Regions from separate parts of the Homo sapiens genome. Here all the other regions are linked to region 3. The links are contacts of gene promoters, found by promoter capture Hi-C in human tissues and cell types (Jung and others, 2019). All regions are on one chromosome and are shown on one strand. The core of a region is centred on a gene start or on the middle of the fragment in contact, and the rest is flanking DNA. Distances in the headings are between cores, read along the strand shown.

Region 1 (3,779 bases), core at 224-2,723, 510 kb before region 3:
TTTATCAATTTATAAACAAATAGTGTTCATAAGGCACACATATTTCACTCAACCATATTCAGTTCCAAACATGCATTCCTGAATATCCCAATCTTAAAACTAACTCACATTGTCAGCTTGTGGAGGCAGAATACATGCATACATATACACATACATACATGAATATACATATAATATACACACACATATGCATACATACACATATACACATGTATACATGTATGTGTATATACATATCTGTACTACATAGGTGTATATATATGTATATGTATTTAGCATGTATGCACGTGTATATGTATACACATATATACATATGTATGTATAATACATATTCACACATGTATGCATGTATATACACATGTATACATTAGTATATGTATATACACATGTATGTGTATTATACATGTATATATGTACATACATATCAGTCTACTGATTTGAATATTAATGTCATCAAGAAATAACCTCAATATATGTATGTATTATAACCTTACAACTATATAAAACATACATACATATATATGTATATATGTATACACATACACATGCATGAGAATATATGTATGTATATATAATATCCTCACAGTAATTCTGCCAGGGATTTTATGGGGGAGGGAGTTGGTACTCCAAATGGCTAGGTGGTAGAGCCAGAGTTTTATACTTGGTTTATCTAGCTCTGAAGGCAATGCTCCTTGTTCTTTGCACTGAAACATTGTGCAGATACGAGAAGCCTGTAGTTTACGTATTTCATTAGCCTTTTATTATTTTAAAAAATAAAACCTGAAAAAAAAGACCTAGTCCTGGATACTTTGGTGATCTTGTTGTGTCTGGATTGACGAACACGTGTCAGGCTTAATTAGGGATGCACGCGGAACCCGGGAAAATCCCTGCTCAGGGGGGCTGGAAGACCTGGAGGTTGATCCTTGAACAGGGTACTTTTAGCTTCTCCGATAAGGAGATTGGGTTATTTTATCTTTAAACTCCCTTCCAGCTCTACCCTCCTTTGATTTTAAGTTATAAACCTTGAGTGAGGTGCCAGACTCTAGGCTTCGTTGGACGTCTACAGGACGGTCAAGGATTACCAACTCAAAGTAAAGAAGGAAATTTGAGTACTTGCCCCCTTGGAGGTTGTGTAGGTTGGCTATACAGATTCTACAACTTCCCAGACGAGTGGCCCTGAGACTTGGGGCTGAACGCGCGAGCACGGAAAGAAATCCCACCGTAGGACGGAACCCAGTCTCTTCAGCTCCATCCTAAACTTCGCAAGTTTTCTCTGAGTCTACGCGCTTCCTTAGGACTACAACTCCCAGCATGCCACGCCAGCGGTCAAAGCTTATTGGTGGTCCTGCCAGGTCGCTTGCGTTGTGGCAGTCATGGTAGCCAATGGAAATAAAGAATTATCCCAAGAAACCAATCCTGGAGTAGTAGGGCGGATCCTTCCTGGGTTCCGGCTCCGGCTCCAGCTCCTTCCCTCGCCTACAGAGGCGGCGCTGTCCCTGATCGAGCGGCGGGAGCGAGGTGGGTCCGGGTTGGGCCCGAGGTCGCGGGGGGAGGCGGACACGACTTCGCGGGAAACTCTGTACACGGCCACTTCCCTCTCACCGAGGATCTGGATGCTGCTGCTTTGCTCCCTGGACCGAGTGGGAAGCCAAGGGGCCTTGTGGTCCCTCCGCCGCGACCCTCGCCCTGGCCCCCGGCCCACGCAGCCAGGTGGCTGTCCCCAACCCATTCCCCGGCCCTTCTGTTGGGTTTGAGTATACAGCCTTCCTGCCGCTGACCATACGTTTAGGATCAGCCCCTCCTCCTCTCCCACCTCTCTGGCCCCAAGCCCGCCGGCAATCTCTGAAACCAGCTCTTGTACCCTTGGACCTCCGCCATTGGCTTCTCCCCGCCCCGCAACACACAACTCAGCTCTTGGGCCCTGGCCTGTGACACTTCTGGCAGCCTTTGCTTCCTCTTCCCTGACCGTCTCCTGCGACCCTCTGACTTCCTTGGTCCTCCTGTATCTCTGACCCGTTATCTAGCTTCCCTGTACAATTACCCTGTTAGCACCTTGCTCTTGGTCTTTCATAGCTCCTCTCTCCTCTTCCTCCCTGCAGCCCTTGACTTGGCCCCAAAGACCTGTAACTTCGGACCTCCATACCGCACTATGGCTTGGCCCCTTGCCTTTAACCTAGGCGCTTCACCTTCATCATCTGTGATCACTAGCCCCATCTTCTTGGCTCTTAACTTCTTAGACCTGGCCCCTCCTCCACTTCTCAGCCCCTTCCACCGTTGCTTCTCTCTGTGCAGCTGAGCCACCAGGAAGACAAAGCCCAATAGACCCCTTTTCCCCCCAGATCTCTGCAGTGTGATATGAAAGTGCCTCTGTACTTCAGCTGCACTGTCTTCTCAGTAGGTAGTTGCCTCTTTATCTCTGCAAGTCCCAGTCTTACCCATCCTGCAAACCTTAGGTCAAATACCTACTCCTCCTTGAAACTTCTCAGCCCTGATTTCATCAGGGAGATACATCTGTATCATGTGAACTTCAGTGGTACTGTTTTTATTTCCTTCCTTCCCGTCTTCTCTCCTTTTTTCCTTCAGTAATAGTATAATGGTTAAAAGCACTGACTTTGAAGTGATGGGCATAGGCCCCAGTTCTGCCACTTACTTGCTGTGTGCCCTTGGGCAAGATACTTAATTTCTCTGAGCCTCAGCTTTCTCATCTCTAAAATAAGGATGATGTGAAGTGAAATTAGATGATTCATATATGGTCCTTAGTCCACAGCTTAGCACTTGATTCGAGCTTTAAAAAAATGTTAATAATGTGCCAGGTGCTGTGTTAGACACTGAGGAGTGGGTACAAAGGTGACTAAGGCACAGTTCCTGCCCCTGTCCCCTGAACTTAACCTTCTGCATTGTATGACAATTTCTGGAGTTCACGGTCTGTTTCAGTACACTGTATCACAAACTGAGTGGTAATCATAATCCTAAATCCTTTTGCTCTTACATTGACCTAGCATCCAGCCCCGGGTAGAGCTGGAACTTGGTAAATTATAGGTTCTCAGAATAGCAGTTTCGGAAGTGAGTGGAGGCTGAATAGCTCATTGCGTAGAGATACTGTAGCTGTAGGTCAGATGGGAGCAGGGCAGGGGGTGGGGGATGGGATGGTGGCGTGAATTAAGATCACATCCTGTCACTTATACATTCAAAAGACATTTGAGCACCCAGCTTTATGCTGCAGAAGGAGATTACTAATATGACCCAGTCCCTTTCCTCAAGTTGCTTATAAACTACTAATAGAAACAGACATGTTCTACTAGTAGTTGCAAACCACTATAAGCCAAGCACAAGATTCTGTGACTGCATAAAGGAGAAAGTAGGCAGGAATCAGGAGATTGCTGAGGAAAAGTGGGTGAGACAGTTCATGGTTACTTGTGTCCCATGAAGACAGAGCTGGTGTTTTATTCAACTCATTCAACAAATACTTATGAAGGATCTACTGTATATGGCTGCCACTACTCTAGGAGTTTTGGTTACATTGGTAAATTAAAAAAAAAACAAAAAAACAACAAAGACACCAGCTCTCATGGAACTTATGTTTTAGGGAAGCAGACAATAAATAATAGACATAAAGAGAATGTCAGAAGGTAAGATGTGCTATGGGGCAGGAGGACTGGGAGTGTGGGAGTGATTTTAATTTTTTAAAGGATGGTCAGGAAACAGTGTCTAAGTATCAAGGAATAGTTTCTCATGTTTACTTGCATTTTTGGAAGTAAAGCAAACCAATTATTTTTCAT
Region 2 (3,969 bases), core at 80-2,579, 670 kb after region 3:
AGGCCTCCGGCCGGCGGGCAGGGGCGCGGTCGGTCTGGGAGCAGCGGCACCGCCCGCAGCGTCCCGGTTCCTCGAAGTGGGGCGCGTCCGCTTTAATCGGGGAGAGAGATGTGGGGGCACGGGCGTTACATCAGCCGCCACGTGTGGGCCTAAGCTGGCGTGGAGGCGGCGGCCCCGCCCCCGGCCCCTGCGGTGGAAAAGTACCGGGGCGCCGAGGTCCCCGCCCCACGGCCCCGCCCCCGGGCCGGCACCGGCCCCTCCCGGCCCTCCGGGCAAGCCCCACTCTCCCGCCCGGCCCGGCCCCGCCGCCTGCTCGAGATCTGCAGTGGCTGCCGGGTGCGGAGCGCCGGCCGGGGGTGGGCTCTCCAGGGCTGCTAGGCCCCTGCCCTCACCTGCGGCCGCCCGGCCCCGCCCTAGGTGTGCCGGTAATGAGGGTTGGGGTGGGGAGGGCACGGATTCTTCCCAGGGTAGCAACCCCCAGAGAACTCCCGGCTCGCTCGCAGTCCCTTCCCAAAGCCGCGGCCAGAGCGCGGACAAAGAGAGGCTGAGTGCGCCAGGACTCTCCCGCGCGGCTTCCCGGGTCCCGCGGGCGCACGGGCACTGGAACCGGCACCGGGAGGGCAGATAGGGAGGCAGGCCGGCTGGAGGGGCCAGATAGGCAGCCAGGCTGGCGGGCGCTGAGAGGCGATGGAGCGAGCGGGAGCCCGCACGCTGGGTGCAGGCACGGCCGACTGTCGACCCCTGCAGGCCCCCAGAGCGCAGAACCACTGGCTCCTCGGACGGACAGTGCCACGCTCTGGCTCCGGCGCTACCCGCACAGCCTGCGCCCGCCGCCCCCGATCGAACCGGCGTCTGGCGCCCCCCCGCCACCCCACGCAGGAGCTCCCCCCACTTCCCTCTCCCTCCCGCTTCAGCTCCTTGGTGACAGCGGTGACACCCAGACGCGCGCACCTACCCCGATCTTTGCGGCGAGACAGACATCCCGGTGCGTGCACCCACACTCTTACCCACAGATGCCCGCATACATGCGCGATCACACACACACACACACACACACACACACACGCACACGCTGGTCCTGGGGCTCAGCCCCGCGGAGCCGCCGAACACTCAGACCGACGGCAGGACAGACGGAGGCGCGGGCCCCAGCGTCCCTTCCCCCAGCCCCCTTACCATGCTGCAGCCCCCGGCCCAGGCGTGCTGGGTCCGCACCGCGGTGCGCCCAGGTGGCTTTCTTAAAGGGAAAGTTGCATCAGCCTCCCGAGGCTCTGTGCCGCGCCGAGTTCGCCCGCCCCGCCGCGCCGCTCGCAGCTCTTCCACAGCCTGTTGTGTTTTGGTTTCGGGGAGGCGGGGGCTAAGAGTTTGGTGAAAGTTTGAAGAGTGGAGAAGGCTTGGGAGATCTAGCCAAGTCCCTCCCCTACCCGAACGGCTCCCCTGGCCGTCCTCCCCTCTCCATCCCATCCCCTCCTCCCGTGCCGACTTCTCAGGCTCCTCCTCCCAGGGAATAAAATTACAAGTCTCTCCAGCTTTCAGATGATTGATCCCCACGAACCCCTGGGAGTGAGCGCCACAAAGGAGTCCCCTTCTCCGCCCCTGCCTCGCTGCCCTCCAGCTGGGGCCCTTGAGCAAGCAGATGTGGGCCCCTTCGGGCTAGGCTGGAATGAAGCCAGAAGGCCTGGGGCACTATGGGGGGCTGAGGCTGGAGTTAGCCCTCCAGGCCCCTGGCCTTCTGCGCCTGCGTTTCCCCTAGAGAGAAGTCAGAGCAAATTCCATTCCCTTTGGAGCAGAGCCGCTAGAGACTGTGGGCATTGCTGGGTAAGGCCTAGGTCCTACTCCTTGGAACTGGAGGGCTCGGGGTAGCCCTTTCTCAAATTTCCCTCCTGGACCACCGGCTTGGTCAGCTCTACTTTTGAGGTGGTGTTACAGGGGCTGCAGACACCAACCTGGGATCCCTCCTCCTTCCATGGTGAGACAGACCTGGGTTACAATCTCAGCTAAAAAAGAGTCTTTGCCAAAAGGAGCATGGTGAGCCTCGGTTTCCTCCTCTGTGAAACAGAGAGAAGGGGCTAAGGAAATGCATGTGTGTGTATATAAAGCCCATTGCTCCAGGCTGCCTCTGGGGAGTGGTGGCTGGCATTTGGAATGAGCCTCCCACATTTGCATACCTTGTGAGAGCCACCACCTTTCATGGAGAGTGGCCAGTTAGTTCTGTCAGAGGAACTGGTTTTTGCCCCAACCTGAGTAGGGCATCTGCTCAGGGAAGGGGCCCAGCCCACAGAGGCAATTTCTACTTTGGACCCTGAGTCCTCACCATTTTCTGGCCAGGAAACAGTTTAATTTTTTTCCTTGGGACAGTCAGCCTCCAAGAAGCGAGTGCACACATGCCAAACTCACGTGAAACCAATTGTTGAGTGAGATTCCAGTTTATTAATTTATCAGAGGCACTGAACAAGATAACAGGCATCAAGCCCAGGCATTCCCTGAAATGCGAGCTCTCTCAGGCCACACGCGGTCCATTCCACAAACCTTCCTCAGAGCCAAAGTACAAAGACAGCTCTCTGTTGTCTCCTATTCACATTGGACTCCTGATCAGATCTGGGAAGACACCTTAGTCTTATCAGCGAGATTATTTTCACTTTTACTTTGTCCCCAAACCTAGTAGGTATAGCATGTTTGGGATTTTTAGTCTCCTACAAGCCAAGTGCAGGTGTTTCTTGCGTGAGTTGTGTGCACACACACCTGGATCTAGGCAACCTGTTGTGTCTGTGCCCCCAGACACCTGAGCCCCGATTGTGTATTTGTGTAGGTACATCTGTGGAAGACTGATTGTGTGCACTGCAGCAGGTCTGTGTAGTTATGTGTGTGCTCAATTCCTGGGACTGGGCAGATGGGGTCCAAGCCCTCTATATCTCTCCTGCCAGGACGTAACTTCCTCCATAAGTTTTTTTTAGGATCTTCCTCCTTGCCTCCTCGCTGGGGCTCATCAAAAGGGATACCACCCCAGGGAAGGCAGATGGAGGATGTCGAAGAGGCCCCCAAGTAGAGGAAGGCGGACAAGGAAGAGTATGAAGGGGAAAAGGCCTCCCTCCTTCTCCCTTCCAGCAGTAGGCTGGGGTGGGGACAGGCCTAGAAGAGGGCACTGAGCGCTAAGAACACTCAGTGAAGATTCCGAGAGTTTTCATGGCTCAGGGAATCCATATGAAGGGAGGCAGGTGTAGGGTGCTGCAAGCCAGACTTCCAGGATGCCCTCAGGCCTAGGGGCTTGGGGCCTGGGCTGTTAGAAGAGAGGAGGATGGGTGCTCAGGGGCCAGCCCTCTGAGGCTCCGTCAGAAAGAGGAAGGCTTGGGGACTAACCTAGGGACAGGGACGTGGGGTGAAGAGAAAATTTTCCTTGGAGTGTTTAGGGAGATTGGGGATGTTGGCCAGAGGGCTTTATTAGACTAACACTGGCATAGCTCAAAGTCTATTTGTATACATAGAAACAGATTCATGGATATGTGTGTTTTACCCACCTTGAACCAGAAAGAGCTTCAGGAAACCACACAGCTGTGTCCTGAGGAGACACTTGTGAGAAAGATTCTGGTTTGAAAAGTCATCTTCCTGAGACAGGGACTAGAGAGGCTGTTTTTTTCCAATCAGAATGAGGCCCAAAGGAGGCAGGTTTGGGCCCAGCCCGGGTGGGAGCTGGGATAGCCTCCGTCCCTGGCTGTGAGCCCCTGGCTCTGAGCAGCTGGCCTGCAGGGTGGGAAGGGCATGGCCAGCCTGGGCCACTGTGGGGCGGGCAGGGGGATCAGGACTGAGGACAGACTGGGGCAGGGGAGGGGATGGGGGACGGACGGGGTCAGACATTTTGACGGGCCTGCTTCTTCCTGGGGCAGGGCAGCAGTTGGGCTGGGGCCCACCCACCACCCACTGCAGGCTGAAATGTGGCTCAGGAGCCTCCAGTTACTGCAGCCAGTGGAGCTATTT
Region 3 (3,888 bases), core at 1,151-3,650:
GTAATTTGATTTTCAATGGCCAAATCTGACCCTTTCTGTCATCATTCCACTTGACTACATATATTAGGGTATCTCCCACTTCAAGATCCATGTCTGGATAATTTCCATTGCCTTCCTTCATTCATTTATTATTATTATTATTTTGAGACAAAGTCTCCCTCTGTCACCCAGGCTAGAGTGCAGTGGCGCGACCTCGCTCACTACAACCTGCGCCTCCCAGGTTCAAGCGATTCCCCTGCCTCAGCCTCCCAGGTAGCTGGGATTACAGGTGTGCACCACCACACCTGGCTAATTTTGTACTTCTAGTAGAGACAGGGTTTCGCCACATTGGCCCGACTAGTCTTGAACTACTGACTTCAAGTGATCTGCCCGCCTTGGCCTCCCAAAGTGCTGGGATTACAGGAGTGAACCATGACAACCTGCCCAAATCCTTTATTTTTAAATGTACAAATTCCCTGAGGCTATACCCTTTATCCTTCTCTATAGCTACCACCAGAAGTTGCAAATTATTGCCATATCCCCCCCCTCAGATGTTTTATTTGGTCCTTCCCTACACAGAAACCCCACAGGTACCACAATGCCTAGCAGATGAAGTCCAAAGTCTTTAGCTTAACATTTAAGACCCTGACCAACTTGACATGAGACAACCTTTTCTATGTTTTCTGGGAATTCCCCACCTCTAACCTAAGCATATCCAATTCCTTATTTTCCAAGGTAATTGGAAATAGAGAATGCAAAGGCTTCAAGTCAAAGATAATAACATTATCTGTAAGCATCGGAGTGGACTTTAAGCTAATGACTGAAAATGATTTTTCCAGCCTCTTTCTGGGACAGTATAGCGTATTGTTTAGATTGCAGGGATTAGTCAGATAGTTTGAATCCTGGGCTCCCCTACTTATTATTGGCTGCATGCCTTTGGGCAAGTTTCTAATCTTTCTGACCCAGTTTCTTTTTTCTGTAAAGGGAAGATGGGGTATCTATCTGCCTTATGGGATTAAGGATTGAACTCGATAATGTATGTAAACTTTTTTTTTTTTTTTCAGACAGAGTATCGCTCTGTTGCCCAGGCTGGAGTGCAGTGGCTCGATCTCGGCTCACTGCAAGCTCCGCCTCCCGGGTTCACGCCATTCTCCTGCCTCAGCCTCTCGAGTAGCTGGAACTACAGGCGCCCGCCACCAAGCCCGGCTAATTTTTTGTATTTTTAGTAAAGACGGGGTTTCACCGTGTTAGCCAGGATGGTCTCGATCTTCTGACTTCGTGATCTGCCCGCCTCGGCCTCCCAAAGTGCTGGGATTACAAGCGTGAGCCACCGCGCATGGCCTGTAAATTGTTTTAACACAGTAGTTAGATGGTCCATAAATGGTACCATTATTACTTTTATGATTGCTGCTCCACCTCTGAGCACATTCATACAATTCACTCAAGTCATTATTAGAGCACTAGATTGAGTGCGAGTCAGACCTGGATTCCCACAAACTTCTTTGTATGACCTCGGGCACATCCCTTCCCTGGGCCTCCGTTTCTCCATCTGTAAAATATGGATTTGTTGTCGGGGTGGGGAGGCTGCACCACGCACAGGTTAGACTAATGGATCTCTAAGGTCCTCACATCTTTAAAGCCCCAAGGGGATAAGCCACAGTGCCTCCTGTAGGGCAGTCTAAGCTTATCTTCCAGATAGGCAGGTTTGAATACCGATCCTTTTTCTTGACCTTAAGGAATTCATTCACCCTTTTCAACCTCATTTTCCCTGTTTGTAAAACAACAGCAAACGAGACAAACACACGTTACTTCCTTTCTAGCAGGGTTCCTACCCGGCGCCAAGCAAAAGTGGAATGTACCCTAAGTAGCTCTGGCCTTCTTCCTGCTCCCAAGCTTCCCAATTCCGTCCCCTGCCCCGCTGCCGCCCGCGGCTCTCCTTCCCCTTCTAGGAACGGCTCAAGCGCCTTGGGCACTCCATCGGGTTCTGCACCGAGTTCTGCATCATAAATACGACTCTCGTGTAGGATTTAAGTGTGAACTTCTGCAGGTTCTCGGACCCTGAAGCACCCGGGGCCAGACATTCCGAGCTCGCGGCGGTGGAAGGCACGCAAAAGGGCGAACCGAGACGACTCCAGGACGCTGAGGCAGCGCAGGCCCCACCCGGCCCCGCCCTGCCCCGCCCTGTCCCGGCCGGCTTTCCAGTACTAGTCCTCTGGCGCCGGCTCCCAGCCCCTCTCGTACCCTTCAAATCGCGCTCCGCCGCTAGACTCTCGTGATAGCTGAGACTTTCCCCGGAAGGCCCGCCCCCTTCGCCGGAGAGGCCAATGGGCTAGGGCAACGGTTGCGACGGTTGGATTTTGAAGGAGCCAATAGGCGCTCGGAGCGGAGAGTTTAAGAGGCGTAAGCCAGGCGTGTTAAAGCCGGTCGGAACTGCTCCGGAGGGCACGGTGAGAGGTGGTGGGGCTGAGCCGAGGTGGGGCCGTGGCCAGGGGGAGGGGGTGCTAGGCCGGAAGGGGCTGCAGCCGAGGGTGGCCCTGATTTTGTGGCCGGCCAGGAGCGAAGGGGTCCCTTTCTGTCCCCTGAGCACCGTCGCCTCCTTTCCTCCAGGGCTCCGTAGGCACCAACTGCAAGGACCCCTCCCCCTGCGGGCGCTCCCATGGCACAGTTCGCGTTCGAGAGTGACCTGCACTCGCTGCTTCAGCTGGATGCACCCATCCCCAATGCACCCCCTGCGCGCTGGCAGCGCAAAGCCAAGGAAGCCGCAGGCCCGGCCCCCTCACCCATGCGGGCCGCCAACCGATCCCACAGCGCCGGCAGGACTCCGGGCCGAACTCCTGGTCAGTGAGGTGCCAAAGGAACTGAGTGAGAGCAGCCTTCATACTTTCTCCCTGGGGAGCCTGGTCAGACTGTCTTCTCTTTCTCCGCCCCAGGCAAATCCAGTTCCAAGGTTCAGACCACTCCTAGCAAACCTGGCGGTGACCGCTATATCCCCCATCGCAGTGCTGCCCAGATGGAGGTGGCCAGCTTCCTCCTGAGCAAGGAGAACCAGCCTGAAAACAGCCAGACGCCCACCAAGAAGGTATGTGTCCCAGAGGGGCTTAAGGCACGGGACCTGACTGTTCTTTGGATAATACCATCTTGCTCCTTCACTACCCTTTATGCCAGGAACATCAGAAAGCCTGGGCTTTGAACCTGAACGGTTTTGATGTAGAGGAAGCCAAGATCCTTCGGCTCAGTGGAAAACCACAAAATGCGCCAGAGGGTAAGACCCGAAGTTCCTGGTTCCTGGAGGGAGGTGTCAGTTCATCTCCAGGGCTGAGCACAGATATCTGTCTCCTCTTCCTATCTAAGATTGAGGGCAAGGGAGGTGTTGATTTTCCCAGCGTCTAGACTCACTCCGTTGCCACAGGTTATCAGAACAGACTGAAAGTACTCTACAGCCAAAAGGCCACTCCTGGCTCCAGCCGGAAGACCTGCCGTTACATTCCTTCCCTGCCAGACCGTATCCTGGATGCGCCTGAAATCCGAAATGACTATTGTAAGTGCATCCTTATCCTCGCCTCATGCATGGAGAAAGAGGGCCTGGGACCACACAAACAAGGAAGCTCATGCTCTTCTCTCCACCTCTGACAGACCTGAACCTTGTGGATTGGAGTTCTGGGAATGTACTGGCCGTGGCACTGGACAACAGTGTGTACCTGTGGAGTGCAAGCTCTGGTGACATCCTGCAGCTTTTGCAAATGGAGCAGCCTGGGGAATATATATCCTCTGTGGCCTGGATCAAAGAGGGCAACTACTTGGCTGTGGGCACCAGCAGTGCTGAGGTGCAGGTGAGACGTGTCCAGTGCTGTCATTCTCACCAGTCCCAATGGGCTTGCACAGCTGGAGGATATTAATGCCAAGTCCCAA

The links. The method cuts DNA at HindIII sites, captures the fragments that hold promoters and counts their contacts. A contact is called where the count stands out against the background at its distance.
Region 1: a contact is called between the fragment with the promoter of ZNF691 here and the fragment with the promoter of CDC20 in region 3, in 1 of the 25 tissues and cell types used here (hippocampus).
Region 2: a contact is called between the fragment with the promoter of SLC6A9 here and the fragment with the promoter of CDC20 in region 3, in 1 of the 25 tissues and cell types used here (psoas muscle).

Annotation. Positions count from the first base shown.
Region 1 is chr1:42,845,140-42,848,918 of GRCh38, forward strand. ZNF691 (zinc finger protein 691) reads left to right here and starts at 1,474. Exons shown (of 4, transcript NM_001242739.2): 1 at 1,474-1,518. It overlaps ZNF691-DT (ZNF691 divergent transcript), which reads right to left and starts at 1,275. Exons shown (of 5, transcript NR_186083.1): 1 at 1,118-1,275. RefSeq lists enhancers at 1,011-1,280, 1,441-1,510. The HindIII fragment of the contact is 6,395 bases long and covers 162-3,779 here.
Region 2 is chr1:44,030,133-44,034,101 of GRCh38, forward strand. It overlaps SLC6A9 (solute carrier family 6 member 9), which reads right to left and starts at 1,330. Exons shown (of 14, transcript NM_001024845.3): 1 at 1,174-1,330. LOC107984948 (a long non-coding RNA gene) reads left to right here and starts at 282. Exons shown (of 2, transcript XR_007066054.1): 1 at 282-417. LOC124904168 (a long non-coding RNA gene) reads right to left here. Exons shown (of 4, transcript XR_007066055.1): 3 at 3,513-3,969; 4 at 2,411-2,595. RefSeq lists silencers at 1-481, 802-871 and an enhancer at 464-1,060. The HindIII fragment of the contact is 16,348 bases long and covers 1-3,969 here.
Region 3 is chr1:43,356,581-43,360,468 of GRCh38, forward strand. It overlaps CDC20 (cell division cycle 20), which reads left to right and starts at 2,401. Exons shown (of 11, transcript NM_001255.3): 1 at 2,401-2,426; 2 at 2,587-2,816; 3 at 2,910-3,058; 4 at 3,145-3,241; 5 at 3,389-3,517; 6 at 3,613-3,809. The coding sequence starts at 2,636. CDC20-DT (CDC20 divergent transcript) reads right to left here and starts at 2,093. Exons shown (of 4, transcript NR_183650.1): 1 at 1,970-2,093; 2 at 1,462-1,528; 3 at 1,223-1,320. RefSeq lists enhancers at 1,170-1,678, 1,790-1,849, 2,189-2,697 and silencers at 2,140-2,249, 2,440-2,589. The HindIII fragment of the contact is 17,818 bases long and covers 1-3,888 here.